Linked DNA regions of Homo sapiens: regions 2 and 3 are each linked to region 1. Evidence: promoter capture Hi-C in 16 types of primary human blood cells and fetal thymus (Javierre and others, 2016). All regions are on one chromosome and are shown on one strand. Each heading gives the region's core, a stretch centred on a gene start or on the middle of the fragment in contact. The rest is flanking DNA. Distances are from core to core; before and after follow the strand shown.

What was found. The method cuts DNA at HindIII sites, captures the fragments that hold promoters and counts their contacts. A CHiCAGO score of 5 or more calls a contact.
Region 2: a contact is called between a fragment that was not itself captured here and the fragment with the promoter of DEFB1 in region 1, in 2 of 17 cell types (naive B cells and fetal thymus). The highest score is 5.7, in naive B cells.
Region 3: a contact is called between a fragment that was not itself captured here and the fragment with the promoter of DEFB1 in region 1, in 2 of 17 cell types (total B cells and fetal thymus). The highest score is 5.3, in total B cells.

Annotation. Positions count from the first base shown.
Region 1 is chr8:6,876,319-6,879,444 of GRCh38, reverse strand. It overlaps DEFB1 (defensin beta 1), which reads left to right and starts at 1,509. Exons shown (of 2, transcript NM_005218.4): 1 at 1,509-1,648. The coding sequence starts at 1,588. The HindIII fragment of the contact is 13,732 bases long and covers 1-3,126 here.
Region 2 is chr8:7,027,873-7,031,110 of GRCh38, reverse strand. It overlaps the pseudogene DEFA11P. Among named protein-coding and RNA genes, the nearest start is that of DEFA3, 11 kb to the right of the region's middle. The HindIII fragment of the contact is 1,875 bases long and covers 800-2,674 here.
Region 3 is chr8:7,048,702-7,051,724 of GRCh38, reverse strand. No RefSeq gene overlaps it. Among named protein-coding and RNA genes, the nearest start is that of DEFA5, 6.5 kb to the left of the region's middle. The HindIII fragment of the contact is 249 bases long and covers 1,386-1,634 here.

The DNA.
Region 1 (3,126 bases), core at 260-2,759:
TCCGATAGAATACTGTAGCTAGCTCATTGAGGCAGTTCACAGACGGTGTTTGGGAGGAACTTGGAAGAGGCTGAGCCATGTCTTACCCAGCACCAGCAAGGAAAGCTGTGTTTCGGTTCTTTCTTTTCTCTTTCCACAATCTCACTGCTCCTAGGTCAGGCATGGCTCAGCCTCTTCCAAGTTTTCTCCCAAACACCCTTTGTGAACTGCCTCAATGAGCTAGCTACAGGATCCCACTGCATCTTTCTGTCTCCTTCTTTCTGTCTCTCTGAATCTATTTCTCTCTATCTCTCTCTCTCTCTCTATTTCCATCTCTCTCTGTCTGTTTCTATCTCTCTGTTTCTCTGTGTCTCTCTACTGTCTCTCTGCATGTCTCTGTCTCTTCCTCTGTCTCTGTTTTTGTTTGTCCATCTTTCTGGATCTCTCTCTGTCTTTCTCTGGCAGGGTTGAAGTGGGAGTATACGGCAGGTTCATGTTTGGGTGCAGAATGGCATTCTGCCAGCGGTAGAGTGGCTGAGGGTCACTCCACTCTGGGTGTCTCATGCCATGTGGCTGCAGTATGGGGTTCTCATTGGACCACCGTGACAGTGTAGGGTGGATGTCATTCCTGGAAACTGAGCCTCAAGCTGGGTTCTCCAGCAATGCCACCACCCCCCACCAACCCTGATATCCTCCGAATAAACTCTTCCCTTCCTTGGTCAGCGAGAGCCAGCGTCTGCTGCTTGCAAATAAGCCACTGAGACATCAGGAAAGCTGCTCACAGAATTACAATGAAAATCAGTAATAAATAAAATGTTTCTTAAATCTTTAGAATCAAGGAAAACCTGAGGGATACTTGGAGAGTCGCTAACAGCACCCCAATCTGGCAGTTGTAGCTCTGCAGGGTGGGCCCAGGCTGGCCCAGACCCTCACCCTCCAAGGGCCACACTGGGGGCTCACTTTCTGAGGAGTGCCCTTTGGAAACGTCCCAGGAACACGTCTAGTGGGAAAAGAGAAAAGTTGGTCCATCGAGGAGAGTGTTCTGCATAAGGGGAGAGATGAGAAGGTAGCCTTGGCCAGAGGAAGAAACTTCATTACAACCAGCTCTCCTTCTGCAAGGGAAGAGGGTGAAGTTTGAGTTTGTCTTGCAGGAAGACAATCAAACTAAAGAGGCCAACACCAGCTTAGAGCCGAGCGGCCCCCTGCTCAGAGCTTCCCTGTGGCTCTCCTCCATGTGATCCAGAAGGAGGGACTCCAGTGTGAACTGCCTGTTCCAGAAACCCCATCAGAACTGCCTAACCTAGAAAACCAAACAGGAGGAGCTGGCACCAGGGCTCCAGGCTGAAAGCTAAATCCAGCGGCAGCCAGATGGAGACAATGTGCCATGTGACTGCTGACTGCTCAGGGCAAATGACACCAGGGGTTAGCGATTAGAAGTTCACCCTTGACTGTGGCACCTCCCTTCAGTTCCGTCGACGAGGTTGTGCAATCCACCAGTCTTATAAATACAGTGACGCTCCAGCCTCTGGAAGCCTCTGTCAGCTCAGCCTCCAAAGGAGCCAGCGTCTCCCCAGTTCCTGAAATCCTGGGTGTTGCCTGCCAGTCGCCATGAGAACTTCCTACCTTCTGCTGTTTACTCTCTGCTTACTTTTGTCTGAGATGGCCTCAGGTAAGCTCTGGTACCTGCAAGAGTTTCCCATCCCCAGGGCTGGGGACAATGGGGCTGATGTGAGTCTCGGATGGCTGCCTCCGTGTCCCAAGGGACGAGGAACAAGCAGCAGGAAAGCATCCCGTGGTTGAGTGGCCTGCAGTTGGCAGAAGGCAGCAGGCAAGCCCTGCCAAGCCTTCAGGGTCTGTGAGCCGCCAAGGAGTGAGCCTGGCAGGGTCATGGCGCTTGTCACAGGCAGCTGCCTGCATCCTTGTCCTGGACATGTAGACAGTATCCTATGTGGATGAGATTGCTGCTTCCCCTGCAAGACGACTCCTCACACTGAGAGGCCAGCTTCCTATGCAGAGAGAGGGGCCGGCCCCATCCTCAGCCCACGTCACTGGGTGCAGCCTCCTGGGGTGCCCTGGTACAGGTGAGGTGCTGCCGCCCCACCCATCAGGCCAGCTCAGCCGGTGCCTTGGACTCACCTCCTGTGCAGGCAGGCGGTCCTCTCCCTCTCCTGAGAAATGCATCCACATTCTCCAGGTTAGCAGTCTCCCCAGTCAATAGGAGGGGGCTTCCTGTGAGCCAGGTGTATGTCAGCTTCTCTGGGCCAAAGCAGCCATGACCCTGACATGATGGTGGGACGTGCAGGAGGAATCGGGAACATGTTTTATCCCAGCCCTATCCTTGTTCACACGAGTCACATGGTGCTAAGCCTTGGTTTATTCATCTGCAGAATGAGGGGCTGGGAAGGATGATCCTGAAAGCAAGCACTCCAGTTCAGAAAGTCTCTGTAAGATCCTATTGTAAGTTTCTCTAGGCCATCACTGTATCCAGCAGATAGGCTTAATTTATTCCAATTATGCCTCAGTTTTTCCATCTGAAAGCTGAGTACAAAAGCATTCTAAATGCAGAACTTTTCATGCTGCCAGTTGCTACAATGGATTTTGTTTTTTTGTTTTTTTTTTTGGTTTTTGGTTTTTGGTTTTTGTTTTTGCTTTGCTTTTTTTTTGAGACAGGGTCTCACTCTGTCACCCAGGCTAAAGTGCAGTGGTGTGATCTCGCCTCACTGCAGCCTCTGCCTCCTGAGCTCAGGCCATCCTCCCACCTCAGCCTCCCAAGAAACTGTGACTACAGGCATGCACCACCACACCTGGCTAATTTTTTTATTTTTATTTTTTCGTAGAGATAAGGTCTTACTGTGTTGACCAGGCTGGTCTCAAACTCCTGGGCACAAGCAACCCTCCTAGTTCAGACTCCCAAAGTTCTGGGATTATAGGCATGAGCCACTCCACTCAGCCTACCGTGTTTTTTTGTTTTGTTTTGTTTTGTTTTTTTGAGATGGAGTCTTGCTCTGTCACCCAGGCTGGAGTGCAATGGCACAATCTCAGCTCACTGCAACCTCCACCTCCTGGGTTCAAGCAATTCTCCTGCCTCAGCCTCCTGAGTTAGCTGGGATTACAGGTGCATGCCACCAAGCCTGGCTAATTTTTGTA
Region 2 (3,238 bases), core at 488-2,987, 150 kb before region 1:
CATTTAATTTTTCCTTCTTGCCTGACTGCCCTAGAACCTCTAGCACAATGTTGAGTAGAAGTGCTGATTTCAGATATCCTTGGCTGGTTTCTAATTTCAGTAGGAAAGCATCCTTTTTTTTTTTTTTCAACCACCGAGTATGATGTTAGTTGTAAGTTTTTCATAGATGTCCCTGATGCCAAAAAAGTTGGGGACTGCTGCCTTAACAGATTGAGAGTTCACCTCTCAACCCAGTGAGTGTTTTCATGCCTAATAGTATCTCACTTTTCTCTAACTGTATTCTTGTTTCTTCATCTTTTTTCTCTGTTCTCTGGACTATATAATCTTTTATCTATCTGTACACACATTTCCTAAATCTTGGTTCTGCCAGTTTAAGTATACTATTGAGCAGCCGTTCATAAAATTTACATTTCGATTATTGTACTTCTCAATTCCAGAATTTCATGTGTTTCTTCGTAACTTCACTTTATTATATTCTGCCCTTGAAAAGATTTTGTCATCACAGTTTCCTTTAATTATGTAATAATGGTTTCTTTTAGTTGTTTAGTCACATTTATCATTAATACTCGTTTTTTTCTATTAAGTTCTTTATATATTTAGATATTTACTTTCATTACATGTATCGTTTACAAATATTTCTCTCTCTTGCTAGGTTGCCTGTTTGCTCAGTTAATGACTTCCTTTGCTATGCAGATGTTTTACAGTTAAATGAACTCCAACTGGTTTATTTTTGCTTTAGTTGCCTCTACCTTTAATGTAATATCCAAGAAATAATCTCCCAGTTCAACGTTAGGAAGCTTTATCCCTATGGGTTCTTCTAGTAAGTTTTATGATTTCAAGACTTATATTTAGGTCTTCAATTCATTCAGAGTTGATTTTTACATTTGGTGTGAGATAAGGGTACAAATGTAGATATACGTTGAATTATCAGGTTGTGTACTTTCAACCGATATAATTTCTAATTGTCACTCCTCTCAATACGGTTGGAAATAAAAAAAAATTTTTAACCTTATTCAGACCAACTCTTTAACTAGTATCCCACTGAGCTTATTTGACTGATAGCCTGATGAGGCCATTGTCCTCTCCACACTAGCAGTGGCAGAAGACTATGCCTTCCAGAACCTCAAAAGCGTCCTTCATGAGGGTAGAAATGCCCCAGAATCCTGCAATGAATTACTCTCTATGCTGGGGTCCAGGTCTTGCCTCAGGGTCTAGACCACCAAGAATAGCAGGGCTCATCTTCAGAAAATAAGAGGCATTTATTGCCTGAACTTATGGAATAAGAGCAGTGTTTCTTTTCTTTTTTGAATATTAAGAAGTAAATGTTCCAGCAGATGAGACACAGGAAATTATAGCATGATCCTAATCATCACTATTGGCTTGGACCCAGAACAGACACTCGATAAGCAGACTCATGCTATGATAAAAGCTCGGAGAACAGAAGAGCATCAAAGGGATCTTGATGGCAAAGGCAGCCCTTCCCTTCCCCAATCACATGCTCCACCTCCTCTCACTGCAGCATCTGTCTCTGAGCCTTCTCCCAGCAGAGCTATAAATCCAAGCTGGCTTATCACTCCCCACACATCCACTCCTGCTCTCCATCCTCCAGGTGACCCCAGCCATGAGGACCCTCACCCTCCTCGCTGCCATTCTCCTGGTGCCACTCCAGGCCCTGGCTTGAGCCACTCCAGGCAAGAGCTGACTAGGCTGCAGCCCAGGAGCAGCTTGGGGCAGACCACCAGGACTTTGCCATCTCCTTCACAGGGGACATAAGCTCAGGTTTTAGAGATTCAGGTGAGAGCCACCAGCACTGCAGAGCCAGGAGTCTAGAGAGGAAAACCAGGCACCGCTAGAATCAGACCCAATAGCTGGTTCTTTCTCTTAGGTGATCACCTCTCCAGGCCTCAATTTCCTCAAGTGTAGACTGAAAAGACAGAATCAGATGATATTCAATGGACATTGCTCCTCCAAAGGTATTTGATTCTGTGAAAAGTCAGTGAAATTTAGTAATCTTATGCTATGTGGAAACACGCTGGGGAGTCTCTCTGGCATCGAGGATGAGAACCCACTTGGAAAGAAACATATTTCACTTTGTTTGTTAGAGGAGCTTCACAAATGGGAAGGGACCTAAGGGTGTACTCAAATGTGTGTGTGAAGAAGCAGCATCACAAAAAGTGAGCAAATGAGAATAAGTCTCTAATCCTGCCTGTGAGCAGCACTGCTGTGTACGTTGATTCCTATTGATTGAGCTGATCTTGCTGCTGCTGTGGTGTGGCCACCATGATGAATGCAATCAGCCCAGTAAGTAACTGCACGGGGATTCTCCTTACCAACCGCGTCTGACCCCAGTCCCAATGCCTGATGCTTTCTCTGTGTCTTCAGGCTCAGCGACGGGCTTGGTCTGCTATGGCAGAATATCAGGCTGTCATTTTTCCAAACACCGCTATGGGACCTGCACCAATAGTGGGATCATGGAGCACAGAGGAAAATGTGTTCATCATTTGCTTTGAGATCTAGAGGAGAACTTTTATTACTCCTTTACCTTGTCTTCAATTTCTTCCCTTATTCCTAATAAAGTCTTTGTAGCAAGTTTGTGTTTGTACCTGTTTGGTGTTTAATGCACCTCTTAGTCAAGACTCTTTGGGATGCAAGCACCAGAATCCTAAATTAAGCTTTTTAAGCAAAATACAACTCCAAATTCTAAGAATATCAAGGACAAACATTGGCTTCAGACACAAACTGATTTACAAGCACAAATTATGCTGCCAATTTCTCCTTCTACTTCTCTGTCTTTTCACTCTGCTTCACTTTGATTGGATTCACTCAAACGTAACTCCCATGTGTTAGGAAAAACAGTCATTATCAGCTTTCAGTTTACACAATCATAACATCGCTACTTCTTAGGGAAAAAACCACCATGTTCTTTCCTGAAGTGTTGGAGTTTCATTGAACAGACCCAGGTCACACATCTGCCTTTGAAGACCTGGGGTTGTCACAGCTCTATTGAAAAAAATTTAATTGAGATTGGAATGAACAGTTAAGAAAGCTGTAATGGGCCAGGTGTGGTGGCTCATACCTGTAATCCCAGCACCAAAGAAATGGTTCCAGACCGGGGGCAGTGGCTCACGCCTGCAATCCCAGCACTTTGGGAGGCTGAGGCAGATGGATCATCTGAGGTCAGGAGTTCGAGACTAGCCTGGCCAACGTGGTGAAACCTCGCCTCTATTAAAAATACAAA
Region 3 (3,023 bases), core at 261-2,760, 170 kb before region 1:
ACCCAGAATAATGTTTGACCAAATATCTGGTCCACTGCAAAACAGCCAAGTTGACACATAAAATTAACCATCACATTAGACCTTCAGTTTTACTGAGCAATCTTCTAAGTCTTCTCTGTATTTCAATCTTGTTCCAGTTCTTTAGAAGGACTTTAATAATATCCTAGTTCTATCATATTCTATATCACGTTTTTCACAGATTAAATTCTTGAAACTGTTGTTGGGTTTTTTTTTCTTTTCTTTTCTTTTCTTTTTTTTTTTTTTTTGACAGAGTCTCACTCTGCTACCCAGGGTGGAGTACAGTGGTGTGATCTCAGGCAGCTGCCACCTCAGCCTCTCAGGTTCAAGCGATTCTCATGCCTTGGCCTCCCAAGTAGCTGGGAATACAGGCATATGCAACCACATCCAGATAATTTTTTCTACTTTTAGTAGTAACAGGGTTTCACCATGTTGCCCAGGCTGGTATCGAACTCCCAATCTCAGGTGATCCACCCGCCTTGGCCTCCCAAAGGGCTGGGATTACAGGTTTGAGCCACTACACCCAGCCTTGCTTTTGAAACTTTTGATGCATCTTACACCTATGTGTAAATGTAATCTGATAGTGGTTTTGCTTTGATTTACTTTGATAAACTTCTATAATTATGTAATTGGTATTACTATAATTTGAGTATGTCCTCCAAAAGTTCATGTTGAGACTTACTCCTCAATATAACACTATTAAAAGGTGGGGTCTTTAAGAGATGATGGGGTTCTGAGGGCTCTATGCCCCCGAATGGATTAACCCATTCATGAATTAACGTGTTAGTAGATTGTCACAAGAGTGAGTCTGCTGTGAGTCTGTTGTAAAAGCCAGTTCCTCTCAGTGTGTCCCGCCTCACCATGTGATACCCTGCACAACTGAGGACTGCAGAGATTCCTTATCAGCAAGAAGGCCCTCACCAGATGCAGCCTCTAAATCTCAGATTTCCCAGCCTTCAGAGTTGTAAGAAAAAAATGTATTTTCTTTGTAAGTTACCCAGTCTTAGGTATTCAGTTATGGAAAGAAAAAAATAATATAAGACAGCTACCATCTTAGGATCAAGGAAATATGGCAATATTGGTTAATATCCATTCATTGTCCCCATTGTGTTAGGCATCACACCAATTGCTTTCCCTACCACACATGAGGTAGGAGACAATTATCTAGATTTGAGAGATTAAGAAATGGAGGCCTGGTACATGGCAGCCCATCCTTTAGTCTTCGGTATACCTGATGTTGCATAAGAAACAACAGCAAACAGAAAAAGATGACCAGCCCCAATGGACAAAGGAGCCAGTGACCAACCCTAAGAAGATGGCAATGTTCAATAATTCAAAACAGCAGTTTTTAGGAGATTCAGCAAGCTTTGCAATGACACAGAAAAGTAATTCAGAAATGTATCAGAAAAATTTAGCAAGTATATCAAAATCGTTTTCTAAAAAGCAAATAGAAACCCTGGAACTGAGAAATAAACTGCCTAGCAGAAAGCTGTCAGACTCTCAATAACAGAAAGAATGAAGAATACCTATTAAATATAGAAAATACCTCAAAAGAACAAATCTAAAAGTCATTGACCTTCAAAAGGGAGCTGAGAGAGGGCAAGGGCTACAAAGCTTAAATAAATAATAATAGAAAACTTTCCAAATATAGAGAAAGATATAAATATCTAGGTATAGGAAGGTTAAACATTATCAAACAGATTCAACACAAAAAAGACTATCATAAGGCATACGGTCATTAAACTCTCAAAGGAAAAAGAGAGGATTCTAAAAGCAGCAAAAAGAAAGAAGCAAATTAAACATAAAGAGGCTCCAAATCATCTGGCTACAAACTTCTCAGTGGAAATCCTACAGACCAACAAGGAGAGGGATGATATGCTCAAAGTGCTGGGGCACAGGCTGAGAGATAATCTTCCCACCAAGAATACTGCACCCAGCAAAGCTATCTTTCACATATTGAGTAGAAATAAAGGTTGTGACTGACAAACAAAAACTGAGGAAATTCATTACCAGACCTGTCTGTCTTAATACAAAATTATAAAAGGAAAGTCTTTAGTCTTTAAGAAAAGGATGCCAACATGCAAAAAGAAAACATCTGAAGGTATAAAACCAATTGGTAAAAGTAAGTACACAGACAATTTTAGAATACTCTAATATTATAATTGTGGTTTGTAGATCTCTCATATCTCTAGTATGAATACTTAAAGGCAAATCTATGAAAAATAATAAATAAAACAATTTGTTAAGAGATAGGCAATATAAAAAGATGTACACTGAGATCAAAAAAGTCTAAATGTTGGGGGGGAGGGAGTTAAAGTATAGAGTTTTTTAGGTTTTTCTGTCATTGTTAGCTTCTTCTACTTTCTTTGTGATCAAAGTTAAGTTGTCATTTGTTGAAAATAACTTCTTATGAACATTTCATAATCTTCCTAATAACCCTAAAGCAAAAACCTGTAATGCATACACATTTTTTTTTTTTTTTTTTTGAGACAGAGTCTCACTCTGTCACCCAGGCTGGAGTGCAGTAGCACGATCTCAGCTCACTGCAAGCTCCGCCTCCCAGGTTCAGGCCATTCTCCTGCTTCAGCCTCCCAAGTAGTTGGGACTACAGGTGCCCGCCACCACCCCTGGCTAATTTTTTGTATTTTTAGTAGAGATGGGGTATCGCCGTGTTAGCCAGGATGGTCTCGATCTCCTGACCTCGTGATCCGCCTGCCTCGGCCTCCTAAAGTGCTGGGATTACAGACGTGAGCCACCGTGCCCAGCCATGCATACACTTTTTTAAAAGCAAAGAATTAAAGCGCTATCAGAGAAAATCATTTAACCACTAAGGAGGAAAGTAATAAAAGAAGAAAGAAAAGGAAGAGATGAGTTACAAAAGAAACAGAAAACAAGTAACAAAATGGTAATAGTAAGTTCTTACCTATCAATAATAACATTAAGTATAAACTAAATTCTTCAGTTTATAGACATACATTGGCTGAATGGATTGAAAATCAAGATCC